Regions from separate parts of the Homo sapiens genome. Here region 2 is linked to region 1. The links are contacts of gene promoters, found by promoter capture Hi-C in human tissues and cell types (Jung and others, 2019). All regions are on one chromosome and are shown on one strand. The core of a region is centred on a gene start or on the middle of the fragment in contact, and the rest is flanking DNA. Distances in the headings are between cores, read along the strand shown. Region 1 holds the start of S100A7A (S100 calcium binding protein A7A). Region 2 has its middle 6.4 kb from the start of S100A12.

Region 1 (7,533 bases), core at 1,092-3,591:
CCTCAATCTTGCCTGTTCCCAGCATTTAAGGGCACTGCCTACCTTAGTTCTACCCCAGGGCCTCAAAATTGGCCCTCATGCTTTGTTCTCTTCTTTCTCTGACCTCCTCTCCTTTCTTCTCCTTTTCCACCAAACTCATCTTCTGGGTTCCCTACTCTTGGTCATCTAGACCCTTTGGTACCTAGTAGCCCACAGGTTTTTTCAGATTTGCCAATGAGTTTTCTTTATTGCAAAGAGGGCTATTGATTTCTACTAGCAATGGAACTTCTAGTGCTTTCCCAGTAATCTCAGGGATGTTGATGTGGGGCCTTTGGGAAGCAGGACCTGAGCATGTGAGTTTCAGTCTCACAGAGAGAGGGTCAGTGAGCGCTGGGAGGGGACTGTGCACTGTCCTCAAGCTGCACACTTTGCTGACCATCTAATAACCTCCTTTATATCTGTATAACTCTTTCCCATTTTCATACTTTTTCGCCTACCATCCTTAGATTCACATATGATCCAAGCAATAAAGCCCTATTTGCAAATGGGAAACTTTTTAATCAGAGGATGAGGGTGACCTGTCCAAGGCCACATAGCAAAATGTATCCTCAGCCATGCCAGGGTCCAACCAACATTGAGAAGCTAGACCCCAACTCACACAGGCACTGAGGAAATTGGGGAAGTTCTCCTTCATCATCGTCAGCAGGCTTGGCTTCTCAATCTTGCCATCACGTCCGGTGTATTTGTGAAACATGTCGATCATGCCTATTATGGACCTCTCAGCTTGAGTGTTGCTCATCTTTGCTTTCAAAAAGCCTTCAGGAAATAAAGACAATCATTTCTTACCTTAGTTTGAATTAAGGTCTCTATGTGGGGGTGTTAGAAGGAGGGCTGAGGACAGAGTAAAAACAGCCCTAAGATGGAGCAGAAGGAACTTGATTTTTTTAAATGTGATGGGATAAGTTGTTCAAAAATGAGAGGGTAGGACCAAGTCTGAGACCCGGCCCATCCTGGCCAGGGCCAAGAAGAGATGCAGGTGGATGGCAGAAGTCCAGCTGTGGACAGTGCTTCAGAGAAGGAGAAGCAGGGAGAGTCGGAGGCCAGCAACACATAGAAGAACTAAGCTGGGACCCCCCAGCCTCAACCAGCACATGGCGGACCCCACTCTTGAAACAGCACCAAATCCATCTCCTCCAGCTTCACAGTCGGGGTGAGAGTCACGGGGGCAGGACAATGGCCTTGGTGATCTGGTGTCTGACCCTCCTCGGCTGCTTCAGGAACCAGACACCGTGGGCCCCACCTTGACTCAAGTGCAAGCCCTGCATGACACAGTGCGTGCAGGCTCCAGGTGCACATGTGAGCGTGGACATGAGTGTGAGCAGGAAACACAGCCCTCTCCCGAGGACAGGGGGCCCTTCCTACATTCCCTTGGGAATGAGAAACAAGAATTGCCTCTGTTACAAGGAACAGAAATAACTCCCTGGTTCTTAAGCTGCTGGATGGGGTGGGAGTGAGGTGGGAGTCGCTTCATGTCTGCTCTTGGGAAATATCTGCACCCTCTGAATCACCAAGGGTTGACCCTGTTTAAATAAAAATGTCTGACTTTCCAAAGCAGATCTTCCAGCCAGTAGCCAGCCTGGGCTGCCCTGCACCCCAAGCCTGAAAAATAAGACAGTGCAGCTCTCATTTCTACACTTTCCAAAGAACCAGAAAAGGACCTTGGCTAACGCATGTGGGCATCTGACAATAAACCCCCAACACCTCTCAACGCAGGAGAAAGCTCCGTGCCAGCAACTGACTAAGAGAAGCCACTCAAAGCTTTCTGAATCTGAGGCCAAGGCCAAGGCCAGAGGCCAAGCCCTGTGCCCAGAGATTGACTGAGAATTTACAGGTCCAAGGCCTGGGGGTTTGGAGAGCCTCCAAAGCATTCACAGGGGATCCTTATCCCTCCTCCCTCTGTGGGGGCAGAGCTGGGGAGGGGATTCAGCAACTGGGATCCCAAAAGGAGAATGAATCCAGGGAGGAAGAAGACAGGAAGGAAAGGGAGGGTCCTGTGCTCAGGTCCCACTGGGGACATTTCCACAGGAGTTGTCTCAGGAGATCCCAAAGGAGCAATGGACAGGTCTGGTTCAGCCACCTGGTTGTACAGACGTGGGCTTTTGGGGTCAAGTGAAGGTCACACAGCCCAGCTAATGGCAGAGCTGGCCTAGACCCAGGCTTCTGAGACTTTGTCCACAGCCCTTTCCCTTCCTACAGGCAGCATGGCAGGCTGGGCACTGGGCACTTCTAGAAAATGCAAAGAGGCAGGTGAGACTTACCAGAACTGGGAAGTGTCACGAGTAGAAGGATGAGTGAGATGTGTGTGTTTGGACAAAGAGCAGTCCTTTATAAGGCTCAGCCTGGCTCTTCCCACGGGTTGGGAGGCCTGGGGCCACCTCTGTCATCTGTTTCTTGGAGGCTTGTCCCATATCAGGTGTGTGGGACACACCCAGGAGGCTGTGCTCAGGATTTCTGGCCAGGGTCCCAGGTCACCAGGTCCCACCCCACCCCAGAGACCTCACCTGGGGCCTTCTCTGGCTCAATCTTGATTTGAGGGTAAGGCAGCGGTACATGTGTAGTAACAGGTCAGGAAATGGGAGAAAAGAGCACTGGGCCTCTGGACCCAAAGAGAATGGAGTTTCAGACTCCCAAAGGCAGCATGGTCTTGTTTATTCCCTCCCCCAGTACTTCCACACATTTGTTGTGACAGCCTGTTCTATGACCCCCACCGCTTACTGAGCGTTTTAATGTCTAGACATCAAGACACCTGCTGCTCTTGCATCCTCCTCAACCCTCCCCTCATAGTCTTAAGAAGCAGGTGCTGCAATCTCTATTTTAGGAAAGGAGAAGTTGAGATGTTCCCAAGTTTACTCAGCTAGTAAACACAACAAATCATCACACGAACAAAGAAAAGCCTGAATCAAATCCTTACTCTTATCCCCTGTGCTATAGGTCTTGGGTTGCATCAGGGTCTGCCCTATGGGAACTCAAAGTCCAGGGAGGGAAGCAGGATTACTTCATTGCTAACCATTGGTCAGCCCCTCACAGAAGCCCTGGATTTAGGTGGGGGGACTGGGGTCAGGGGCCTCACTATCTAGGTTGAGTGGTGGAGTGACCCCCGCCCCCCCCGCCCCATGGAATGAGCCTGGAGGTAGGGAGTGGGAAAAGTTCTTTCCTGCCCCATGGCACTAACTTCCCAGAAAGTCTTCAGTGTTTTTCCTCCTCCTATGCAAAACAGCCTGTGTAGGAGTTGGGAGTTGTGCCCTTGGCTATAATGTGCCCTAACCTGCTGTGGAAAGCCTGAACCAGGTAGGGGCAAGAGGGTTGGGAAGGCACAGGAGTCCCTGGGGCATGGTGAGGAAAAGGAGATGATGAATCACTGAAATGGACTTTTTCTGCTACCCCCTTACAATGTTCCTTGTAGGCCGCAAGAGGTCCTGGTTCATTTAGTGCCAGCCCTTTAAGCACTCTGGGGCTCCATAGAGCTGATGTGATGTCTCCCTAGGTGGGACCTATTTTCTCCACCCATCATCTTTCTTCAACTTCCTTCTCTGTCAGTTCTTATGTAACCAGGGGGACCTGTTTCTCCCTCTCCCAGTTTCCCATATGACGGCAATATTACTTTTAGCGGCAAAAGATACACACACACACACACACGCACACACACACAAACACACACACAAACGCACACATACACACACACACAGACGAATACTACTCAACCATAAAAAGAATGAAATGATGACTTTTGCAGCAACATGGATGGAACTGGAGGCTATTATCTTAAGTGAAATTACTCAGAAAAAGAAAGTCAAACACTGTGCACCCTCATGTGTAAGTGGGAGGTACATCATGCATACAGATGGAGGTAGAGAGAGAGTAGAATCATAGACACTGGAGACAGTGAAGAGCAGGAGGTCAGGTGGTGGGTGAAGGAGGAGACATTTCTTAGTGGGTACAATGCGTGTTATTTAGGATGGCTGCATTAAAAGCCCGGACTTCACCACTGTGCAATGTGTTCATATACATGTGTATGCAGGTTTTTGTGTGGACATAAGCTTTCAGTTCTTTTGGGTAAATCCCGAAGAGTGTGATTTCTGGATCCTATGGTAAGAGTATGTTTAGTTTTTTAAGAAAGCACCAAACTGTCTTCCCAAGTGGCTGTACTATTTTGTGTTCCTGCCATCAATGAATGAGAGTTCCTGTTGCTCCACATCCTTCTTTAGCATTTGGTGCTGTCAGTGTTCCAGATTTTGGGCATTCTCATAAGTGTGTACTGGTATCTCATTGTTGTTTTAATTTGCATTTCCTTGAGGACATATGATGTGGAGCATCAGCTGATATGCTTATTTGTCACCTTCTGTATCTTCTTTGATGAGATGTCTGTTAAGGTCTTTGGCCCATTTTCTAATTGTTTGGTTTGTGTTCTTATCTCTGAGTTTTAAGAGTTCTTTGTACGTTTTGGATAACATACAAAGTCTGATATGTCTTTTGTAAATATTTTCTCCCAGTCTGTGGCTTATCTTTTCATTCTCTTGACAATATCTTTCACAAAGCAGAAATGTTAAATTTTAAAGAAGTCCAGCTTATGAATTATTTCTTTCATGGATTGTGCCTTGGTGTTGCATCTAAAAAGTCATCACCAAAACCAAGATGATCAAATTTCCTCTTATGCTACCATCTAGGAGTTTTGTAATATTATGTTTTGCATGTAGGTCTATGATTCATTTTGAGTTACATATCATCACTGTTTATAAAAAAAAGGAACAGAAGAAATGCAATACAAAAGGAATCAGGGACAACAATATTAATACAAGACAACAAAGAATTCTAAGAAAAGGGATTAAATGAAAAAGAAGAATATTTCCTATTGATTAGTGTGCAAGTCACCAAGATGCAATAGTCTTATCTTTTTTTTCTTTCTTGTTTTTTCTTTTTTATGAGACACACTTTTGCTCTTGCAGCCCAGGTTAGAGTGCAGTGGTGTCATCTTGGCTCGCTGCAATCTCCTCCTCCTAGGTTCAAGCGATTCTCCTGCCTCGGCCTTCTGAGTAGCTGGGATTATAGGCGCCTGCCACTATATCCAGCTAATTTTTGTATTTTTAATAGAAATGGGGTTTCATCATGTTGGCCGGGCTGGTCTCGAACTCCTGACCTCAAGCGATCCACTCATCTCGGCCTCCCAAAGTGCTGGGATTACAGTTGTGAGCCACTGCACCTGGCAATAGTCTTATCCTTATATACACAAGAACATAATATTGAATTATACAAAGCAAACATTGAAATAAATTAATGAAAACTGACAAATTTATATCACTTGGCAGTTTCTGGCAGAGTCTGCCCAGGAACTCAACAGAGTCGTCAGATAACAAAACACCAGTAATGGTGCAGAGCAGGGCGGGCAGATGCTGCCACAGCCCAGAAGCAGCCCTGGACATAAGGGCCCCGTGGATGAAGACAGCTGTTTCTAGTAAACACTAATCTCCAGAATTGGTTGGCCAGCTGGATTTGGCTTTAAGACCATAATTTGCTGATTCCTGATACAAAATATTTGAAGGACACACTTAAATTTATTTATATACACGTGCATTCATAAATTTGTGCCTGACCATAGAGAATACATATAAATTTCTTTTTTTGTATTGAGGTTCTTTATTAAATTAATTATATAATCTGTATTAGATAATTAACGTTTTTACAAAAATTATTATTATACTTTCAGTTCTAGGGTACATGTGCACAGCGTGCAGTCTTGTTACATATGTATACATGTGCCATGTTGGTGTGCTGCACCCATTAACTCGTCATTTACATTAGGTATATCTCCTAATGCTATCTCTCCCCGCTGCCCCAACCTCACGACAGGCCCTGATGTGTGATGTTCCCCTTCTTGTGTCCAGGTGTTCTCATTGTTCAATTCCCACCTATGAGTGAGAACATGTGATGTTTGGTTTTCTATCCTTGCGATAGTCTGCTGAGAATGATGGTTTCCAGCTTCATCCGTGTCCCTACAAAGGACATGAACTCATCCTTTTTTATGGCTGCATAGTATTCCATGGTGTATATGTGCCACATTTTCTTAATCCAGTCTATCATTGATGGACATTTGGGTTGGTTCCAAGTCTTTGCTATTGTGAATAGTGCTGCAATAAACATACGTGTGCATGTGTCTTTATAGCAGCATGATTTATAATCCCTTGGGTATATACCCAGTAATATGATGGCTGGGTCATATAATGGTATTTCTAGTTCTAGATCCTTGAGGAATCGCCACACTGTCTTCCACAATGGTTGAACTAGTTTACAGTCCCACCAACAGTGTAAAACTGTTCCTATTTCTCCACATCCTCCCCAGCATCTGTTGTTTCCTGACTTTTTAATGATCGCCATTCTAACTGGTGTGAGATGGTATCTCATTGTAGTTTTGATTTGCATTTCTCTGATGGCCAGTGATGAGCATTTTTTCATGTGTCTTTTGGCTGCATAAATGTCATCTTTTGAGAAGTGTCTGTTCATATCCTTTGCCCACTTTTTGATGGGGTTGTTTGTTTTTTTCTTGTAAATTTGTTTGAGTTCATTGTAGATTCTGGATATTAGCCCTTCGTCAGATGAGTAGGTTGCAAAAATTTTCTCCCATTCTGTAGGTTGCCTGTTCACTCTGATGGTAGTTTCTTTTGCTATGCAGAAGCTCTTTAGTTTAATTAGATCCCATTTGTCAATTTTGGCTTTTGTTGCCATTGCTTTTGGTGTTTTAGACATGAAGTCTTTGCCCATGCCTATGTCCTGAATGGTATTGCCTAGGTTTCCTTCTAGGGTTTCTATGGTTTTAGGTCTAACATTTAAGTCTTTAATCCATCTTGATTTAATTTTTGTGTAAGGTGTAAGGAAGGGATCCAGTTTCAGCTTTCTACATATGGGTTAGCCAGTTTTCCCAGCACCATTTATTAAATAGGGAATCCTTTCCCCATTTCTTGTTTTTGTCAGGTTTGTCAAAGATCAGATGGTTGTAGTTGTGTGGTATTATTTCTGAGGGCTCTGTTCTGTTACATTGCTCTATACCTCTGTTTTGGTACCAGTACCATGCTGTTTTGATTACTGTAGCCTTGTAGTATAGTTTGAAGTCAGGTAGTGTGATGCCTCCCACTTTGTTCTTTTGGCTTAGGATTGTCTTGGCAATGAGGGCTCTTTTTTGGTTCCATATGAATTTTAAAGTAGTTTTTTCCCAATTCTGTGAAGAAAGTCATTGGTAGCTTGATGGGGATGGCATTGAATCTACAAATTACCTTGGGCAGTATGGCCATTTTCACAATATTGATTCTTCCTATCCATGAGCATGGAATGTTCTTCCATTTGTTTGTGTCCTCTCTTATTTCGTTGAGCAGTGGTTTGTAGTTCTCCTTGAAGAGGTTGTTCGCATCCCTTGTAAGTTGGATTCCTAGGTATTTTATTCTCTTTGAAGCAATTGTGAATGGGAGTTCACTCATGATTTGGCTCTGTGTTTGTCTGTTATTGTTG
Region 2 (7,176 bases), core at 1,561-4,060, 34 kb after region 1:
CATAACAACCCTATGAGAGAGGTAACTACTATTTCCATTTTGTACATGAGTAGACTCAGAAACTTGACAAAGCTTATGAATCTGGCAAGTGGCAGAGGTAGAATCAGATCTCTACTGTCTCCAAGAAAGAGACCCTAATTAAAACATGAAGGTGCTCTCTTGTAGCCGTTTTCCACCCTGGGTGTGGATGGGACAGCCATTCCTCGCCTGCCTGCCTGGCCTCTTTCTCCTCATCCCCTATAGGGTCTCTGCTGTCCAGAGTGAGGAGTAGGGAGAGGAGGTACCAGATGAGCTTCTTTCTTGGGCCACTTTTCCTTGCCCAGGACTTTACCTGGCACACCTCAGGGCCTGAAGGACTGGTAGTTTTTTCCTGGTGTGAGCAATCCTCTAGGCAAAGATAATCTCCCTATGTATAGAGCAAGAGGATTGGGCATTTTGATTGCCCTAAACTCTTAGGGGTTGCCCCAGTAACAATTCTGTCTTCTTCCCTGGGCGGAGGAGCTTTCCTTCCAGTCTTAGATTTGGAAATTCCCCTGTGATCTAAAACACTGCTGAATCAGCCACCCATGTACTCAGGGCATCTCCATGCTGGAATAGTCAATCTGTGGCCTGTTGCCAATTTGAATGGGGCCCCAACAGCCATCGGTGGTTCTGATTGGAGAGTGATGGCCTCAATGCAGGTTACCTAGAACATAGACATAAAATCAGACAGATTTTAAACATGGTCAATGGTATGGGAAAGCAGGCTCATCATGCAGTTTACCTTGCCATGTAACTCATGGCTAAATCTGACACAGGCTTTGTACACTTCAACTAGAGACTTTTATAGTGACAGTTCCCTGACCGGAGTTACACGTGCTCCCCTGGCTAGTATATTCCTTTGTGGGATATACTGCAGAATACCTGTCACCCTTAGATAGAGCATGCTGTTTTGGAATTTGGGGTCCTCAAGTGTTTGTGCAAAATGACACCGTAAGCTGGAAGGGCTTCTGACATTGCAAGGTTGCCTGACATACTCTGCCAGGAAGGCATTCTGATAGCTGATTCCATTTTGCTGTCTGTGTCCTCCTACTTGGCATAGGTGTACATGCCCTGGGAAAAATGGTACCCAACTTGTCATTGACTACGTCAGTGACAACTAATGCTACCACCTGGACTATTTAGGACCAGTGAGACTCACTGAATGCATTAACTAAGCTGGTGATGAACACCTGAACAGCCTCTGATCATCTGCTGGCAGAGCAGAGTGGCCTTTGGTTGTTGCCAACACCTCCTGCTGTACCTGAGTAAACACCTCAGGGATTGTACAGACACAGGGGAAGGGATCCACAGGCAGACCCAGCCCGTTGGTTTCAAACAGTGAGGCCATCTGAAGGATCCTTCTTTGGCCTTTTTGTAAAAAAAAAAAATTATTTTAGATTCAGGATATACATGTGCAGGTTTGTTACATGGGTATATTGCATGATGCTGAGGCTTGGGCTGCGAATGATCTCATTGCCCAAATAGTGAACATAGTACCTGTTAGGTAACTTTTCAACCCTGGTGCCCCTCCTGCCCTCCCTCCTTTTGGAATCCCCAGTGTCTACCACTCCCATCTTTTTGTCTGTGTGTACTCAGTGTTTAGCTCTCACATATAAGTGAGAAATTCTGGTATTTGGTTTTCTGTTTCTACATTAATTCACTTAGCGTAATGGCCTCCAGGTGCATCCATGTTGCTGCAAAGGACATGATAGTGTTCTTTTTTATGCTTCATAGTATTGACATATATGACATATATGTACTACATTTTCTTTATCCAACCCACCATTGATAGGTACCTGGGTAGATTCCATGTCTTTGCTAATGTGAATAGTGCTTTGATAAACATACTAGTGCAGGTGTCTTTTCCTTTGGGTATATACTCAGTAACGGGATTGATGGGTTGAATGGCAATTCTATTTTTAGTTCTTTGAGAAATCTCCAAAATGCTGAACTAATTTGCATTCTACCAACAGTATATAATCATTCCTTTTTCTCTCCAACCTTGCCAACAACTGTTATTTTTTTGACTTTTAAATAATAGTCATCCTGACTGATGTGAGATGATATTTCTTGTGGTTTTGATTCACATCTCTCTGATGATTAGTTTTTGCATGTTTGTTGGCTACTTGTGTTTCTTTTTGAGAAATGTCTGTTCATGTTCTATGCCCACTTTTTAATGGGGTTATTTGTTTTCTTCTTGTTAAGTTGTTTGAGTTCCTTATAGATTCTGGGTATTAGCCCTTTGTCAGATGCATAGTTTGTGAATATTGCCTCCCATTCTGTAGATTGTCTGTTTACTCTGTTATTAGTTTCTTTCACTGCGTGGAAGCTTTTTAGTTTAATTAGGTCCCATATCAGTTTTCGTTTTTGTTGCATTGCGTTTGAGGACTTAACCATAAATTCTTTGCCTAGAACATGTCTAGAAGAGTATTTCCTAGGTTTTCTTCCAGGATTTTAATAGTTTAAGGTCTTAACATTTAAGTCTTTAATCCATCTTGAGTTAATTTTTGTATGTGGTGAGAGGTAAGGGTCCAGTTTCATTCTTCTGCATATGGTTAGCCAGTTTCCCCAGCACCATTTATTGAATAAGATTTCCTTTCCCCATTGTTTATTTTTGCCAGCCTTGTTCAAGGTCAGTTGGTTGTAGGTATGTGGTTTTATTTCAGTGGTCTCCATGCTGTTCCATTGGTCTATGTGTCTATTTTTGTACCAATACCATGCTGTTTTGGTTACTGTAGACTTGTAGTGTAGTTTGAAATTGGGTAATGTGGTACCTCTGGTTATATTCTTTTTTGCTTAAGATTGCTTTGGCTATTTGTGCTCTTTTTGCTTCTATATGAATTTTAGACGAGTTTTGTAAAGTTGTGTGAAAAATGACCTTGGTAATTTGATAGGAATAGCATTGAATCTATAGATTGCTTTGGGCAATGTGGACTTATTAACTATATCAATTCTTCCAATCCATGAGCATGGCATGCTTTTTCATTTGTTTGTGTCATCTATGATTTCTTGTAGCAGTGTTTTGTAGTTCTTTTTGTAGAGGTCTTTCACTTTGCTGGTTAGATATTTTCTTAGGTATTTTATTTTTTGTGTGTGGCTGTTGTAAATGGAATTGCATCTTTGATTTGGTTCTCAGCTTGAATATTATTGGTGTATAGAAATGCTACTGATTTTTCTATGTTGATTTTGTTTTCTGAGATTTGCTGAAGTTGTTTATCAGGTCTAGGAGTCTTTTGGAAGAATCTTTAGAGTTTTCTGGACATAGAATCATATTGTCAGTGAAAAGAAGTAATTCGCTCTTTTTCAATTTGGGTTCCTTTTATCTCTTTCTCATGTCTAATTGCTCTGGCTAGGACTTTCAGTACTATGTTGAATAGGAATAGTGAGAGTAGACATCCTTGTCTTGTTCCAGTTCTTAGGCAGAATGCACCTAACTTATGCTTATTCAGTATGATGTCAACTGTGGGTTTGTCATAGATGGCTCTTATTATTTTGAGGTATGTTTCTTTGATGTCTATTTTATTGAGAGCTTTCATCATGAAGAAATGTTGAATTTTTATTGAATGCTTTTCTGCATTGATTGAGATGATCATATAGTTTTTGTTTTTAATTCTGTTTATGTGGTGAATCACATGTATTTATTTGCATATGTTGAACCATCCCTGCATTCCAGGAATAAAGCCCACTTATTTGGGAAATCAACTTTTTGATATGCTGCTGTATTTGGTTTTCTAGTATTTTGTTGAAGAGTTTTATGTCTATGCTCATCAGGGATATTGGTCTGTAGTTTTCTTTTTTTGTTGTGCCTTTGCCAAATTTTGGTGTCATGAGGATATTGGTTTCATAGAATGAGTTAGGGAGGAGTCCCTCCTTGATTTTTTGTAATAGTTTCTTTAGGATTGATACCAGGTCTTCTTTGTAGATCTAGTAGAATTTGACTATGAATCCGTCTGATACAGGGTTTTTTGTTGTTGCTATTGTTGGTAGGTGTTTTATTACTGATTTATTTTCATTACTTGTTATTGGTCTGTTCAGAAATTCTATTTCTTCTTGACTCAGTCTTGGGAGGTTGTGTTTCCAGGAATGTATTGATTTCCTCTAGATTTTCTAGTTTGTACTCATAGAGAGGTTCATATCTCTGAGGATCTCTTGTATTTCTGTGGAATCGGTTGTAATGTCACCTTTGTCATTTCTGATTGTGTTTATTTCGATCTTCTCTCGTTTTCTTTGTTAATCTAGCTAATGGTCTATCAATCTTGTTTATCCTTTCAAAAAAGCAAGTTTTCCTTTCACTGATCCTTTGTATGGCTTTTTGGGTCTCAATTCACTTAGTTCTGCTCTTATTTTAGTTACTTCTTTTCTTCTGCTAGCTTTGAGCTTAGTTGTTCTTGTTTTTCTAATTACTTTAGGTGGAGGTTGGGTTGTTAATTTGAGATCTTTCTATTAATATCTTCTTTATATATATATATTTTTTATTATACTTTAAGTTCTAGGGTACATGTGCACAATGTGCAGGTTTGTTACATATGTATACATGTGCCATGTTGGTGTGCTGCACCCATTAACTCGTCATTTACATTAGGTATATCTCCTAATGCTATCTCTCCCCCCTCCTCCCACCCCGCTTGATATAGGCATTTAGCGCTATAAAATTCCCTCTTGGGAGGATAGAGGAGCGAGGCTGGCGGGCACACCGGTGAGCGGGCCGGAAGCCGGAGCAGCCGAGGAGTCTGCAGCAGCCGCGTGGCGGAGTCTGGGCGAGGAGGTCAACGCTCCTGGAAACTTGGGCTCGTCCTCGCGCCTCTGCTCCAGGAGCAATGACGATGGTCACGCCCTGGTCGCACCCTGGATGCGGTTCTACTCCAACAGCTGCTGCCTGTGCCTCCATGTCCGCACCAGCACCATCCTGTTAGGTGTCTGGTACCTGATCATCAACGCCGTGGTACTCCTGATTTTGTTGAGTGCCCTGGCTGATCCGGATCAGTATCACTTTTCAAGTTCTGAACTGGGAGGTGATTTTGAGTTCATGGATGACGCCAATACGTGCATTGCCATTGCGATTTCTCTTCTCATGATACTGATATCATGAGAATTAAGGCTAATTACGTAATTAAGGCTAATTACGAAGCATACAGGCAACACGCATTCTGGATCATCCCATTCTTCTGTTACCAGATTTTTTTTTTTTTCCGAGACGGAGTCTCGCTCTGTCGCCCGGGCTGGAGTGCAGTGGTGCGATCTCAGTTCATTGCAAGCTCCACCTCCCGGGTTCACGCCATTCTCCTGCCTCAGCCTCTCCGAGTAACTGGGACTACAGGCGCCAGCCACCACGCCCGGCTAATTTTTTGTATTTTTAGTAGAGACGGGGTTTCACCGTGGTCTCCATCTCCTGACCTCCTGATCCACCCCCTTCGGCCTCCCAAAGTGCTGGGATTACAAGCGTGAGCCACCGCACCTGGCCCTGTTACCAGATCTTTGATTTTGCTCTGAACACCTTGGTTGCAATCACTGTGCTTGTTTATCCAAACTCCATTCAGGAATACATACGACAACTGCCTCCTAATTTTCCCTACAGAGATGATGTCATGTCAGTGAATCCACCTGTTTGGTCCTTATTATTCTTCTGTTTATTAGCATTATCTTAACTTTTAAGGGTTACTTGATTAGCTGTGTTTGGAACTGCTGCAGATAGATGAACGGCAGGAACTCCTCCGATGTCCTGGTTTATGTTACCAGCAATGACACTAAGGTGCTCCTACCCCGGTATGATGATACCACTGTGAATGGTGCTGCCAAGGAGCCGCCGCCACCCTAGGTGCTGCCAAGGAGCCGCCGCCACCCTAGGTGTCTGCCTAAGCCTTTGAGTGGGCGGAGCTGGGGGCAGCAGCTTGACTTTTCAGATATCTGAGCAATAGTCATGTTATTTCACTTTTCAGGTGAGCTCTCTGCGCTTGTTTGTTGCCGAAGTGCTACTTTTTAAGATTTAGATGTTAGGTTGAAACCTGTAGTTTTCCTCAACATATGCTTTGTTAGAACACTGTGATAGATTGGCTGTAGAATACTTTCTGTAGGATTGGGGGTGTAACAGGCTTCACTAACCCTCCCTAGGAATGTAAACTTCCCCCAAATCTAGATGGACCTAGAGTCAGAGAAGTCTGCTTTCATACCTGTGGGACCCCAAAGTTGGGCAGTTAGTCATACGTTTCTCTCTGTTCCCTCTCTTTTGAAAGTGTAAAATAAAACCAAAAATAGACAACTTTTCTTAAACCTTTCCAATGTAGAGAACAAAATCTTACGAAAACAGGAATGCCAATTCTGTAATCATTTTTCTAATTAGGTAAATAGAAGTCCTTATGTATGTGTTTCAAGAATTTCCCCCATAACATCCTTTATGACAAGTTCAATGGCAGTTTGTGTTTGGTGGTAAAGGATTTTCTCCATGGCCTGACTTAAAACCATTGGAAAGCACCAGGCAGTGGGAGCAGTAACCACCTGATGTCTGTTCTCCTGCATCCCCTGTCCAGGGTCATGGGGCGGCGTGCCTCATCTATGTTAGAGGGTAAAACTGATGTGTTTAGTGCTGCGTGGGATCTGGTGCTCCTCTTCAGGATTCACATCCCCACCCAGGGCCTGCTTTTACTGAGTGTTCTGCCCTAGCCTGGTTCAAGGAAGTCATGCAACTGACTTTATCAAGTGGAATTGGGATATATTTGTTATATATTTACCTAAAAACATGGAAAGGATTTTCCTCCTTCTTCCCCTGCAAGGTACATTCTACAGCTTTGAACTTCCAAGTATGCCTAGTCACCTTTTAAAATGTAAAAGTTTTCAGAAAAATGAGGATTGCTTTCCTTTTATGCACTTATTATCTTGACTACCTAAGTTGCAAGGTATTTTTATATATTCATATGTTCAAAAGCCAGCAACTCTCCTGTTGGTCCATTATTGAATGTGCTGTGAATGAAGTCTTTTGCAATTAAAATGAGATTCGCCCACATCCAAGATGAAAAAAAAAATTCCCTCTTAACACTACTTTTGCTACATTCCAGATGTTTTGATATGTTGTGTTGTGTCTCTATTTTTGTATGTTTCAAAGAATTTTTTGATTTCTGCCTTAATTTTGTTGTTTAACCAAAAGTCAGGAACAAGTTGTTT

The links. Contacts are between HindIII fragments. The study calls those that stand out against the background at their distance.
Region 2: a contact is called between a fragment that was not itself captured here and the fragment with the promoter of S100A7A in region 1, in 1 of the 25 tissues and cell types used here (thymus).

Annotation. Positions count from the first base shown.
Region 1 is chr1:153,411,328-153,418,860 of GRCh38, reverse strand. It overlaps S100A7A (S100 calcium binding protein A7A), which reads right to left and starts at 2,341. Exons shown (of 3, transcript NM_176823.4): 1 at 2,298-2,341; 2 at 638-795. The coding sequence starts at 778. It also overlaps a transcript of S100A8 not described here. The HindIII fragment of the contact is 7,303 bases long and covers 1-6,082 here.
Region 2 is chr1:153,378,477-153,385,652 of GRCh38, reverse strand. It overlaps the pseudogene LAPTM4BP1. Among named protein-coding and RNA genes, the nearest start is that of S100A12, 6.4 kb to the right of the region's middle. RefSeq lists a silencer at 5,099-5,269. The HindIII fragment of the contact is 6,662 bases long and covers 1-6,141 here.